Linked DNA regions of Homo sapiens: region 2 is linked to region 1. Evidence: promoter capture Hi-C in human tissues and cell types (Jung and others, 2019). All regions are on one chromosome and are shown on one strand. Each heading gives the region's core, a stretch centred on a gene start or on the middle of the fragment in contact. The rest is flanking DNA. Distances are from core to core; before and after follow the strand shown.

Region 1 (6,832 bases), core at 4,333-6,832:
TTCATGCAAATTACATAATGCAAAATGTTTTAAATCTTAGCCTTAATAACTTTGTATTTTGTTTTTGTTTTGTTTTTACTCTTTTTTGAGACAGGGTCTCACTCTGTCACCCAGGCTGGAATGCAGTGAGGCGATCTCAGCTCACTGCAACCTCCAGCTCCCCAGCTCAAGTAATCCTCCCACCTTAGCCTCCCGAGTAGCTGAGACCACAGAAGTGCACCACCCTGCTTGGCTAGTTTTTTGTATTTTTGGTAAAGATGGGTTTTCACCATATTGCCTATGCTGGTCTCAAATTCCTGAGCTCAAGTGATCAGCCTGCCTTGGCCTCCCAAAGTGCTGGGATTACAGGCATGAGCCACTGCGTCTGGCCTATTTTGTTTTATTTTGAATGAGCCATTGTGGCCACACTTTTTGTCCCTAAACTTGAGGTGTATGAAGGCTTTTGGTCTCCCTGGGATTGGATGGAGGTGTGAAAGTAGCAAGGGGTTACCTGTACACTGACTTGAGACCAGTTCAATAAAAGTGCACATTAAAAAAATACAATATTAAAGTCATAAAAGTAAAATTATGTGTAACTATGCATGTATGAATTGCCTTAATTGAAAAAAAATGAAATTATAAAATTATTGGAACTATCTTGGAAAACACAAGATGTACAGAAACCTGCCCTCCTTTAAATAAGAGATAAAAGAAAGCTATGGAATCGTCTCTAAGAACCTTTAAGAAATTGTCTTAATCTTCTCAGGCTGCTGTAATAAGATGCCATCAACTGGGTGGCTTAAACAACAGAAATTTATTTATCACAGTTCTAGGGGCTGGGAAGTCCAAGATCAAGATGCCTGCAGATTCGTTGTCTGGTGAGAGCCAACTTTCTGATATGTAGACAGCTGTCTTCTCACTGTGTGCTCACATGTCGTTTCCTCCATATGTACTCATGGAAAGAAAGATCTCTTTCTTTCTTTCTTTCTCTCTCTCTCTCTCTCTCTCCCTCCCTCCCTCTCTCCCTCTCTCCCTCTCCCTCTCTCTCTTCTTTTAAGGGCACTAATCCCATCATAAGGGTCCTACCCTCATGATCTAATCTAGACCCAATTATCTCCCAAAGACTCCACCTTCAAATAGCCATCACATTGGGGTCTAGGGCTTCAACATATGAACTGGGGGAAGAGAGACACAAACATTCAGTTCATAACAGAAATAAATCTTGTCCTAGTGTGGTGGCTCACACCTGTAATCCTAGCACTTTGGGAGGCTGAGGCAGAAGGACTGCTTGAGACCAGGAGTTCCAGACCAGTCTGGTCAACATAGTGAGACCCTATCTCTATTAAAAAGAAATGAAAATAAGATTAATAAAATTAAAAATTTAAAAAGGACGGGCCACCAGTAGTGGCTCACACCTGTAATCCCAGCACTTTGGGAGGCTGAGGCAGAATGATTGCTTGAGCCCAGGAGTTTAAGACGAACAAAGCAAGACCCTGCCTCTATTTAAAAGAAGAAGGAGGAGGAGAAGGAGGTGGGGGGAGGAGAAGGAGATGGGAGGGGGAGGAGAGGGGGAGAAGGAGAAGGAAGAGGAGATGGGGGAAGAGGAGTAGGAGAGGTAGGAAGTGGGGGAAGAGAAGGAGGAGGAAGGGAAGGGGAGAAGAGGAAGAGGAGGAGGGGAGGAGGGGAGGAGAGGGAGGATGAGGAGGAGGAAGAGGAGGAGGGGAGGAGAGGGAGGATGAGGAGGAGAAGAGGAGGAAAAGGAGGAGGAGAGAAAGGAGAGAGGGGACGGAGAGGAGGAGGAGGAGAAGAAGAAAAGACGGAAGAAGGAAGAAGAGGAGGGAGGGGGAGGGGGAGGAGGAGAAGGGAAGTGAGGAAGGAGAGGAGGGGAGGAGAGGGAGGATGAGGAGAAGAGGAGGAAAAGGAGGAGGGGGAAAGGAGGAGGGAGGGGATGAAGAGGAGGAGGAGAAGAAAGAAGGAAGAAGGAAGAAGAGGGAGGGGGAAGGGGAGGAGGAGAAGGGAAAGGAGGAGGAAGAAGGGGAGGAGGAGGTGAAGGAGGAAGAGAAGAAGAAAAAGAAGAAAAGAATGCTGAGAATGCTGACTGCCTTCTTTGAGGCTATAAAACATGGGAGGTTGGGAGGGAGTCTAGACAGAAGTAACTTCTGGCTTCTGTCTGGTTCCCCCTTCCAACAGAAGATTAATGGTATCCAATAATCCAGAATTCCATTGATATGTCATTGTCTCCAGTACTCCCAGGTAATGGTGACTGATACAGATACAGGGGTCAGGTGGAGGAGAAACCTGTCTAGCCTGGTGGATATTTTCAAGGGAGTGACAGATGCTACCAGAGATGATCAATTTCTCAACGTTATTCTTTACAACTGGGTTGCCCCTTCTCAGACTGCCTGCAGAAAGGCCATCATAATAGTTTGGTGAGGGGCTAGAAAAAGGGGAAATGTGGATGCTTTCATGACTCATTCATAGAAATGAACTTCTTAGTTCATCCTGGATGACTGACACCGGCAAATATTTGATTATCAAAACTCTACCCCTGTAGTTGGGTTTTCATAGTATTTATTGCTCTTGAAGAGCACCAAAAATTTTCATTCTGAATTTGATGTATTTTGAGATGACTGTTCAGAAAGCCTGCAAAGCTGTCTTTTGTGGGGGAGATCTGCATCTGCAGAGAATCTGCATCGATGCAGAAAGGCTTTCTCTGGTGCTCTCCCTTGTCCAGATTTAGGAAAGATTAACTGAGAGTCTGACATCTTAAAAGGTCTAACAGAAACCTTTACCACCTATTCCTTCTAAAGGCTACTGTCTGTGAGATTTCATTTGTTCACCAAGACCGTCTTTGCTGGCCAGGCCTCTTCTTCTCCCCCTCCCATAACCTGTCTTGCCACCATAACCTGTTTTGCCCAGATGCAAGCTCTCATTCTTTCTGTAACCTCAAGGTGGTATAAAAGCAACCATTGGGCATTTCTTTGAGTTTTTATATTTTGTATGACTCCCACACACATGCGTGCATCAAATAAAATTTGTAGGAGACCGGACCCAGTGGCTCACACCTGTAATCCCAGCACTTTGGGAGGCCGAGGCGGGCGGATCACCTGAGGTCAGGAGTTCAAGACCAGCCTGCCTAACATGGCGAAACTCTGTCTCTACTAGAAATACCAAAAAAAAAAAAAAAAAATTAGCCAGGCATGGCGACGTGCACCTGCAGTCCCAGCTACTCAGGAGGCTGAGGCAGGAGAATCGCGTGACCCGGGAAGTGGAGGTTGCAGTGAGCTGAGATCGTGCCACTGCACTCCAGCCTGAGCGACAGAGCGAGACTCCGTCTCAAAAAAAAAAAAAAAAAAAAAAATGCGTAGGCCTCTTTTCCCTTTAATCTATGTAATCAGTTTGTTTTATAGACTCAAATTATCAAACATTCAAGGGAAAAATTTAAACTTCCCTACACTCTCATCTTTCCCTGTCTCCCACCTTATGAACATTATCTTAGTCCTTAAACCTCCTTCTAGGCTGGGCGTGGTGGCTCACGCCTGTAATCCCAGCACTTTGGCAGAGGCAAGTGGATCACCTGAGGTCATGAGTTCGAAACCAGCCTGGCCAACATGGTGAAACCCCATCTCTACTAAAAATACAAAAAAAAAAAAAAAAAAAATTAGCCAGGCATGGTGGCAGGCACCTGTAATCCCAGCTGCTCAGGTGGCTGAGGCAGGAGAATCGCTTGACCCGGGAGGCGGAGGATACAGTGAACCGAGATTGTGCCATTGCACTCCAGCCTGTGCAACAAAAGTGAAACTCCATCTCAAAAAGAAAAAAAAAAAACCGCCAGGTGCGGTGGCTCACGCCTGTAATCCCAGCACTTTGGGAGGCTGAGGCGAGTGGATCATGAGGTGAGGAGTTCGAGACCAGCCTAACCAATATGATGAAACCCCGTCTCTACTAAAAATACAAAAATTAGCCGGGTGTGGTGGTGCCCGCCTATAATCCTAGCTACTCAGGAGGCTGAGGCAGGAGAATTGCTTGGAGCCGGGAGACGGAGGTTGCAGCGAGCTGAGATCACGCCATTGCACTCCAGCCTGGGCAACAGAGCAAGAGCGCGACTCCGTCCCAAAACAACAACAACAAAAGACAAACACACACACACACACACACACACACACACACACACACACACACACAAACTTCTCCCCAAAGGCAAGGCAAGGGAGACTAATACATGCAGTTGTACTTTCTCGGTTCTGGTGAGAAAGCTGAAATCATCTGCTTAAAAAAAAAAGGTTTGGGTTGTACATGGCGGCTCACTACCTGTAGTCCCAACAGTTTGGAAGGCCGAGGTGGGAGGCTCACTTGAGGCTAGGAGTTCGAGACCAGCCTGGGCAATATAGCGAGACCCTATCTATACAAAAATAAAATGTGGAAATGATGTATTTGTGTTGGGACCTCTGTGTTATATACAAAAACATCCCAGTGCAGCTCCTTGGTCTCAGTAGGATGCATGAGCCTTCAACCCTCTCAGCCTGGGCTCAGAAAATTTCCTGGAGCAGATTAATTTGGAGTTTGGTTTAAAGGAGAAGCCAGTGGCGGCAAACACTCTTGGTTATGAGAGGTCTCTTTTTCTTTCACTTTCTTCCTTCAGCTCCCCTAACTGCCATGCAATGGGCAGAAGACATAAAGTGAACTTAAGGCGTATTCTTTCCTCAAGCAATGAGACTCTTACCCCTTTTGTCATGGCAATGGATCTCAGAGTCCACTTAATTCCCTGGTCCCTGATCTCAAACGATGGCCTGAGGCTAAACAATTTGTTTTCTAGGGTAGCTTGGAGCTTGTGGGTGAGGGGAATTACTACTGTGTCCTCTGCGTTCACCCAGAGAGTGACAGAGATCAGGAACCACTGCCTCTCCCCTGCCAGACCTTGTCGGGCTCATGGGAAGCACATGCGTCAGTGTACTAGGGATTCCTGGCGCCTCAAGGGTTCAAGCAACCCTCACACCAGTAAAGGCGGCCCTGCCTAGCACAGGCAGGACGCGGAGGTGGAGAGTTGCGGGGCGCCATGCAGCCGCCAGAGGACGCAAGTGCCTCAAGTCCCCGCGCGATGGCGCCCCACGGACCGGGAAGGAAAGGTGGTCCGCCTGCGAGGAGGCGCGGACCGGGCCAAGGAGCCCATAGGAAGAGCGGGGCGCCGCCTCACCCGCGAGCTGCCGGCCTCTGCATCCGGCCCACCTGTCCCTCCCTGCCTACCAACCCAAGAGCCTCACCCCGATCTGCGCTTGCTGGGTGACCTCGACGCCCGGGCGGGGACAGAGGGCGCTCTGAGCTCTGCGCTCAGCTCCCAGACCCACTCCCACTCCGAGGCGGAGGCCAGGTCTTCAGAGAGGAACGACGGAGGCGCAGAAGCCCAGGGGCAGCCCGCTCCAGCCCTGGCAGCCGCGGAACAATGGCCCGAGCGGCTGCGGGCGCCGCGGCGGGCGCGGAGGAGCAGGGGCGCCAGGGCGCTGGAAGCCCCGCCCCTCGGCCGGCGCCCTGACAACGCGGGCGGGCTGGGCTGCGCCGCCTGCTCCCCGCCCCTCGGCCGCCTGCACCGGGCGGGGCCCGGGCCAGAGCGCCGCCGCCGCCGCTGCTGCAGCAGCAGCTGCTCTGCAGAGTGGTGGCCGGGGCCAGGGCCGGGGTGCCCTCCCTCCCACCTTCTCCCGCCATGAGCCAGGGAAGTCCGGGGGACTGGGCCCCCCTAGATCCCACCCCCGGACCCCCAGCATCCCCCAACCCCTTCGTGCATGAGTTACATCTCTCTCGCCTCCAGAGGGTTAAGGTAATGTGTGGGGAGCGGGCGTCGGAAGGACCCGTGAGGATAGGAAAATGGGGCCATTTGAGCCCTGGCAAAGGTGGGCTTGGGGATCCACGAGAAGGAGATGGCTGAGAGGCTTGCGGAGCGGGAGTCCGGGGGTGCGCACGTGGGGGCGGCCGCGGTTGGGCAAGGAGTCCTGGAGAGGACGCTGCGGGCTTGGGCGATAGACAAGCTCGAAGATGTGGAAAAACTGAGTAGGTGGGGATGGAGGGCTGCAGGGGACCCTGGGGTTGGAGAGATGAAGGACGCTGGGGAATGCGGATTACATTCTGCAGAGCCTGATGGCTAGGATGGAGTTAGAGTCTACGGGAAGCCGGGGGTGGGGGCGGGGGCGGGGGCGTGCCGAGTATTCCTCCGAGGCATGACTTAGAGGGAAGACGTTTCTGGGCCGGGAGCCTGCGACCCTGTGCCCTTCCTACACTCCCTCTTCCCACTCCCTCCAACCCCCCTCCACCCCGCACTGCAGCACCTCCCGGTGGGGGCAGGGAGGCTGAGAGGGAGGTTGGCTACAGGAAGTGGAGGGCCGCGCCAGCCTAGGGGAGCTGGGAGGTGGTGTGGGGAGGGAGTGTCCAAGGTTTCTGCTGTCATCACCTCCCCGGAGGCAGGCTCCAGGGGCTAGGTTTGCTTACCTGCTTCTTCCCCAAGGCAGCCTATGGAGTCATCCTGGCTCCTGGCAGCCTCTCTCCCTTGCAGAGTGGGGCCGAGCTCTTGTCTCCCATATCCCCCGGTACTCTAAGATTGCTGTTGAGCAGTGTCAGAAAATGACCTCGGGTCTGAAAACTGGACCTCTGGCTGTTTACAGCCCTCTGCCTCCTAGGCCCAAAGTGGAAAGATCTGTGCACCTGGTTTCTGTTGGGCATAGGAGCTATTTATGGAATAAGATGTGGGGGAGGAGGACCTGTCTCTAACCTACTGTACATCAAGCACAGCGCCCTGCACTTTCGCATGCATTCTTATTAAATCCTCTAAGTGCTAGATGCTTTTTATGGCTTTCGGTTTTATAAA
Region 2 (6,832 bases), core at 1,774-4,273, 200 kb after region 1:
TTCCCTGGAGTGTATAAGCCTGGTTGCAAGCCTCTGTGAGGCAAGAAGCAGAAAGATTAGCGGTCTCAACATTTAGTATGTAAACTTTCACTTGATCATCCCCCTTTTTAGAATATGTTCCTAGGCTGGGTGCAGTGGCTTACACCTGTAATCCCAACACTTGGATAGGCCAAGGTGGGTGGATCACTTGAAGTCAGGAGTTTGAGACCAGCCTGGCCAATATGGTGAAACCCCATCTCTACTAAAAATACAGAAATTAGCCAGGCATGGTGACGGGAGCCCGTAATCCCAGGTACTCAGGAGGCTGAGGCAGGAGAATCACTTGAGCCTGGGAGGCAGAGGTTGCAGTGAGCCGAGATCGTGCCACTGGACTTCAGCCTGGGCAATAGAGTGAGACTCCATCTCAAAAAAAAAAAAAAAAAAGAATATGTTCCTCCCAAGGACTCTGTTTTACGTTTTCTAGAGAATAAAACTCGTTTTTTTACTGGAATGAGAAAGAGGATCTAGTGAGCCAACTGTGTCTTAAATGGATATTCAATCTATCTACTTGTTCTTAGGGTTACCTTTATCTCCACTTCTTTTATTTCTTTATTTATTTTTTATTCTTTAAGTGCCAGGGTACATGTGCACAACATGCAGGTTTGTTACATAGGTATACATGTGCCATGTTGGTTTGCTGCACCTGTCAGCTTGTCATTTACATTAGGTATTTCTAATGCTGTCCCTCCCCCACCCCCCACCCCATGACAGGCCCTGGTGTGTGATGTTCCCCGCCCTGTGTCCAAGTGTTCTCATTGTTCAGTTCCCACCTGTGAGTGAGAACATATGGTGTTTGGTTTTCTGCCCTTGTGATAGTTTGCTGAAAATGATCGTTTCCAGCTTCATTCATATCCCTGTTAAGGACGTGAACTCATCCTTTTTTATGGCTGCGTAGTATTCCATGATATATATGTGCCACATTTTCTTAATCCAGTTTATCATTGATGGACATTTGCGTTGGTTCCAAGTCTTTGCTACTGTGAATAGTGCTGCAATAAACATACATGTTCATGTGTCTTTATAGTAGCATGATTTATAATCCTTTGGGTATATACCCAGTAATGGGATCACTGGGCCAAATGGTATTTCTAGTTCTAGATCCTTGAGGAATCACCACACTGTCTTCCACAATGGTTGAACCAATTTACATTCCCACCAACAGTGTAAAAGTGTTCTTGTTTCTCCACATCCTCTCCAGCATCTGTTGTTGCCTGACTTTTTAATGATCACCATTCTAACTGGCATGAGACGGTATCTCATTGTGGTTTTGATTTGCATTTCTCTGATGACCAGTGATGATGAGCATTTTTTCATATGTCTGTTGGCTGCATAAATGTCTTCTTTTGAGATGTGTCTGTTCATATCCTTTGCCCACGTTTTGATTGGGTTGTTTGTTTTTTTCTTGACAATTTGTTTAAGTTCTTTGTAGATTTTGGATATTAGCCCTTTGTCAGATGGGTAGATTGCAAAAATTTTCTCCCGTTCTATAGGCTGCCTGTTCACTCTGATGGTAGTTTCTTTTGCTGTGCAGAAGCTCTTTAGTTTAATTAGATCCCATTTGTCTATTTTGGCTTTTGTTGCCATTGCTTTTGGTGTTTTAGTCATGAAGTCCTTGCCGATGTCTGTGTCCTGAATGGTATTGTCTAGGTTTTCTTCTAGGGTTTTTATGATTTGGCATCTAAGATTTAAGTCTTTAATCCATCTTGAATTAATTGTTGTATAAGGTGTAAGGAAGGGATCCAGTTTCAGCTTTCTACATATGGCTAGCCAGTTTTCCCAGCACCGTTTATGAAATAGGGAATCCTTTCCCCATTGCTTGTTGTCAGGTTTGTCAAAGATCAGATGGTTGTAGATGTGTGGTGTTATTTCTGAGGTCTCTGTTCTGTTCCATTGGTCTATATATCTGTTTTGGTACCAGTACCATGCTGTTTTCGTTACTGTAGCCTTGTAGTATAGTTTGAAGTCAGGTAGCATGATGCCTCCAGCTTTGTTCTTTTTGCTTAGGATTGTCTTGGCAATGCAGGCTCTTTTTTGGTTCCATATGAACTTTAAAGTAGTTTTTTCCAATTCTTCCAAGAAAGTCATTGGTAGCTTGATGGGGATGACGTTGAATCTATAAATTACCTTGGGCAGTATGGCCATTTTCACGATATTGATTCTTCCTATCCATGAGCATGGAATGTTCTTCCATTTGTTTGTGTCCTCTTTCATTTCATTGAGCAGTGGTTTGTAGTTCTCCTTGAAGAGGTCCTTCACATCCCTTGTAAGTTGGATTCCTAGGTATTTTATTCTCTTTGTAGCAATTGTGAATGGGAGTTCACTCATGATTTGGCTCTGTTTGTCTGTTATTGGTATATAGGAATGCTTTTGATTTTTGCACATTGATTTTGTGTCCTGAGACTTTGCTGAAGTTGCCTATCAGCTTAAGGAGATTTTGGGCTGAGATGATGGGGTTTTCTAAATATACAATCATGTCATCTGCAAACAGGGACAATTTGACTTCCTCTTTTCCTAATTGAATACCCTTTATTTCTTTCTCTTGCCTGATTGCCCTGGCCAGAACTTCCAACACTGTGTTGAATAGGAGTGGTGAGAGAGGGCATCCGTGTCTTGTGCCAGTTTTCAAAGGGAATGCTTCCAGTTTTTGCCCATTCAGTATGAGATTGGCTGTGGGATTGTCATAAATAGCTCTTATTATTTTGAGATATGATTCTTCAGTACCTAGTTTATTGAGAGTTTTTAGCATGAAGGGCTGTTGAATGTTGTCAAAGGCCTTTTCTGCATCTATTGAGATAATCATGTGGTTTTTGTTGTTGGTTCTGTTTATGCGATGGATTACGTTTACTGATTTGCATCTGTTGAACCAGCCTTGCATCCCAGGGATGAAGCCGACTTGATCGTGGTGGATAAGGTTTTGATGTGCTGCTGGATTCGGTTTGCCAGTATTTTATTGAAGATTTTCGCATCAGTGTTCATCAGGGATATTGGTCTAAAATTCTCTTTTTTTGTTGTGTCTCTGCCAGGCTTTGGTATCAGGATGATGCTGGCCTCATAAAATGAGTTAGGGAGGATTCCCTCTTTTTCTATTGATGGAATAGTTTCAGAAGGAATGGTACCAGCTCCTCTTTGTGCTTCTGGTAGAATTCGGCTGTGAATCTGTTTGGTCCTGGACTTTTTTTGGTTGGTAGGCTATTAATTATTGCCTCAATTTCAGAGCCTGTTATTGGTCTATTCAGCAATTGAACTTCTTCCTGGTTTAGTCTTGGGAGGGTGTACGTATCCAGGAATTTATCCATTTCTTCTAGATTTTCTAGTTTATTTACATAGAGGTGTTTATAGTATTCTCTGATGGCAGTTTGTATTTCTGGGGCATCAGTGGTGATATCCCCTTTATCAATTTTTATTGCATCTATTTGATTCTTCTCTGTTTTCTTCTTTATTAGTCTTGCTAGCAGTCTATCAATTTTGCTGATCTTTTCAAAAAACCAGCTCCTGGATTCATTGATTTTTTTTGAAGGGTTTTTGTGTCTCTATCTCCTTCAGTTCTGCTCTGATCTTAGTTATTTCTTGCCTTCTGCTACCTTTTGAATTTGTTTGCTCTTGCTTCTCTAGTTCTTTTGATTGTGATTTTAGCATGTCGATTGTAGATCTTTCCTGCTTTCTCTTGGGGGCATTTAATGCCATAAATTTCCGGCTACACACTGCTTTAAATGTGTCCCAGAGATTCTGGTTCGTTGTGTCTTTGTTCTCATTGGTTTCAAAAAACATCTTTATTTCTGCCTTCTTTCATTATTTACCCAGTAGTCATTCAGGAGCAGGTTGTTCAGTTTCCAAGTAGTTGTATGGTTTTGAGTGAGTTTCTTAATCCTGAGGTCTAATTTGATTGCACTGTGGTCTGAGAGGCAGTTTGCTGTGATTTCTGTTCTTTTACATTTCCTGAGGAGTGCTTTACTTCCAACTATGTGGTCAATTTTGGAATAAGTGCGATGTGGTGCTGAGAAGAATGTATATTCTGTTGATTTGGGGTGAAGAGTTCTGTAGATGTCTGTTAGGTCAGCTTGGTGCAGAGCTGAGTTCAAATCCTGGGCATCCTTGTTAACCTTCTGTCTCACTGATCTGTCTAATATTGACAGTGGAGTGTTGAAGTTTCCCATTGTTATTGTGTGGGAGTCTAAGTCTCTTTGTAGGTCTCCAAGGACTTGCTTTATGAATCTGGGTGGTCCTGTATTGGGTGCATATATATTTAAGATAGTTAGCTCTTCTTGTTGAATTGATTCCTTTACCATTATATAATGGTCTTCTTTGTCTCTTTTGATCTTTGTTGGCTTAAAGTCTGTTTATAAGAGACCAGGACTGCAAACCCTGCTTTTTTTTTGCTTTCCATTTACTTGGAAGATCTTCCTCCATCCCTTTATTTTGAACCTGTGTGTATCTTTGCACGTGAGATGGGTCTCCTGAATACAGCACACCGATAGGTCTTGACTCTTTATCCAATTTGCCAGTCTGTATCTTTTAATTGGGGCATTTAGCCCATTTACATTTAAGGTTAATGCTGTTATGTATGAATTTGATCCTGTCATTATGATGCTAGCTAGTTATTTCACCTGTTAATTGATGCAGTTTCTTCATAGCATCGATGGTCTTTACAATTTGGCATATTTTTGCAGTGGCTGGTACTGGTTGTTCGTAACCATGTTTAGTGCTTCCTTCAGGAGCTCTTGTAAGGCAGGCTTGGTGGTGACAAAATCTCTTGGTATTTGCTTGTCTGTAAAGGATTTTATTTCTCCTTCACTTATGAAGCTTAGTTTGGCTGGATATGAAATTCTGGGTTGAAAATTCTTTTCTTTCAGAATGTTGAATATTGGCCCCCACTCTCTTCTGGCTTGTAGGGTTTCTGCCGAGAAATGCGCTGTTAGTCTTCCCTTTGTGGGTAACCTGACCTTTCTCTCTGGCTGCCCTTAACATTTTTCCCTTCATTTCAACCTTAGTGAGTCTGACAATTAAGTGTCTTGGGGTTGCTCTTCTTGAGGAGTATCTTTGTGGTGTTCTCTGTATTTCCTGAATTTGAACGTTGGCCTGCCTTGCTAGGTTGGGGAAGTTCTACTGAATAATACCCTGAAGAGTGTTTTCTGACTGGTTGCATTCTCCCCGTCACTTTCAGGTACACAATCAAACATAGATTTGGTCTTTTCACATAGTCCCATGTTTCTTGGAGGCTTTGTTCGTTTCTTTTCACTCTTTTTTCTCTAATCTTGTCTTCTTGCTGTATTTCATTAATTTGATCTTCATTCACTTATATCCTTTCTTCCACTTGATCAAATCAGCTATTAAAGCTTGTGTATGCTTTATGAAGTTCTCGTACTGTGATTTTCAGCTCCATGATGTCATTTAAGTTCTTCTCTACACTGGTTATTCTAGTTAACCATTTGTCTAACCTTTTTTCAAGGTTTTTGGCTTCCTTGCAACAAGTGAGAACATGCTCCTTTAGCTTGGAGAAGTTTGTTATTACCGACCTTCTGAAGCCTAATTCTGTCAACCTGTCAAACTCATTCTCCATCCAGTTTTGTTCTCTTGCTGGTGAGGAGTTGTGTTCCTTTGGTGGAGAAGAGGTGTTCTGATTTTTTGAATTTTCAGCCTTTCTGCTCTGGTTTCTCCCCATCTTTGTGGTTTTATCTACCTTTGGTGTTTGATGTTGGTGACTTACGGATGGGGTTTTGGTGTGGATGTCCTTTTTGTTGATGTTGATGCTATTCCTTTCTGTTTGTTAGTTTTCCTTCTAATAGACAGGCCCCTCAGCTGCAGGTCTGTTGGAGTTTACTGGAGGTCCACTCCACACCCTGTTTGCCTGGGTATCACCAGCAGAGGCTGCAGAACAGCAAATATTGCTGCCTGATCCTTCCTCTGGAAGCTTCATTCCAGAGGGGAACCCACCTGTATGAGGTGTCAGTCGGCCTCTACTAGGAGGTGTCTCCCAGTTAGGCTACACAGGGGTCAAGGACCCACTTGAGGAGGCAGTCTGTCCATTCTCAGAGCTCAAACGTCGTGTTGGGAGAACCACTGCTCTCTTCAGAGCTATCAGACTGGGAAGTTTAAGTCTGCAGAAGTTTCTGCTGCCTTTTGTTCAGCTATGCCCTGACCCCAGAGGTGGAGTGTTAGAGGCAGCAAGCCTTGCAGAGCTGCAGTGGGCTCTGCCCAGTTCGAGCTTCCCCCAGCCACTTTGTTTACCTACTCAAGCCTCAGCAGTGGCGGACGCCCCTCCCCCTGCCAGGCTGCTGCTTCGCAGGTCTATCTCAGACTGCTGCGCTGGCAGTAAGCAAGGCTCCGTGGGCGTGGGACCTGCCGAGCCAGGCATAGGATAGAATCTCCTGGTCTGCCATTTGCTAAGACCATTGGAAAAGTGCAGTATCTGGGCTAGAGTGTCCCGTTTTTCCAGGTAGAGTCTGTCATGTATTCCCTTGGCTAGGAAAGGGAAATCTCCTGACCCCTAGCGCTTCCCGGGTGAGGTGACACCCTGCCCTGCTTCAGCTCGCCCTCTGTAGGCTGCATCCACTGTCCAGCCAGTCCCAGTGAGATGAACCAGGTACCTCAGTTGGAAATGCAGAAATCACCCGTCTTCTGTGTTGATCACCCTGGGAGCTGCAGACCGGAGCTGTTCCTATTATAATGGCCATCTTGGAATGGACTTGCCATCTCTACTTCTTGATGTCCTTGGTATTGCCAGTTCCTGAACGTTTAGGGGATTCTGCATTTTGCTTTCCTCATTGCCAATTTAGGATCTGGCTTTCTCACATCT

The links. The method cuts DNA at HindIII sites, captures the fragments that hold promoters and counts their contacts. A contact is called where the count stands out against the background at its distance.
Region 2: a fragment that was not itself captured here is called in contact with the fragment with the promoter of LPCAT4 in region 1 in 1 of the 25 tissues and cell types used here (dorsolateral prefrontal cortex).

Annotation. Positions count from the first base shown.
Region 1 is chr15:34,365,946-34,372,777 of GRCh38, reverse strand. It overlaps LPCAT4 (lysophosphatidylcholine acyltransferase 4), which reads left to right and starts at 5,582. Exons shown (of 14, transcript NM_153613.3): 1 at 5,582-5,791. The coding sequence starts at 5,678. RefSeq lists enhancers at 3,023-3,082, 4,538-4,827, 4,427-5,422 and silencers at 5,198-5,247, 5,378-5,837, 5,958-6,007, 6,088-6,177. The HindIII fragment of the contact is 28,025 bases long and covers 1-6,832 here.
Region 2 is chr15:34,165,848-34,172,679 of GRCh38, reverse strand. All of the region lies in intron 1 of KATNBL1 (katanin regulatory subunit B1 like 1), which reads left to right. Among named protein-coding and RNA genes, the nearest start is that of KATNBL1, 41 kb to the left of the region's middle. The HindIII fragment of the contact is 5,274 bases long and covers 387-5,660 here.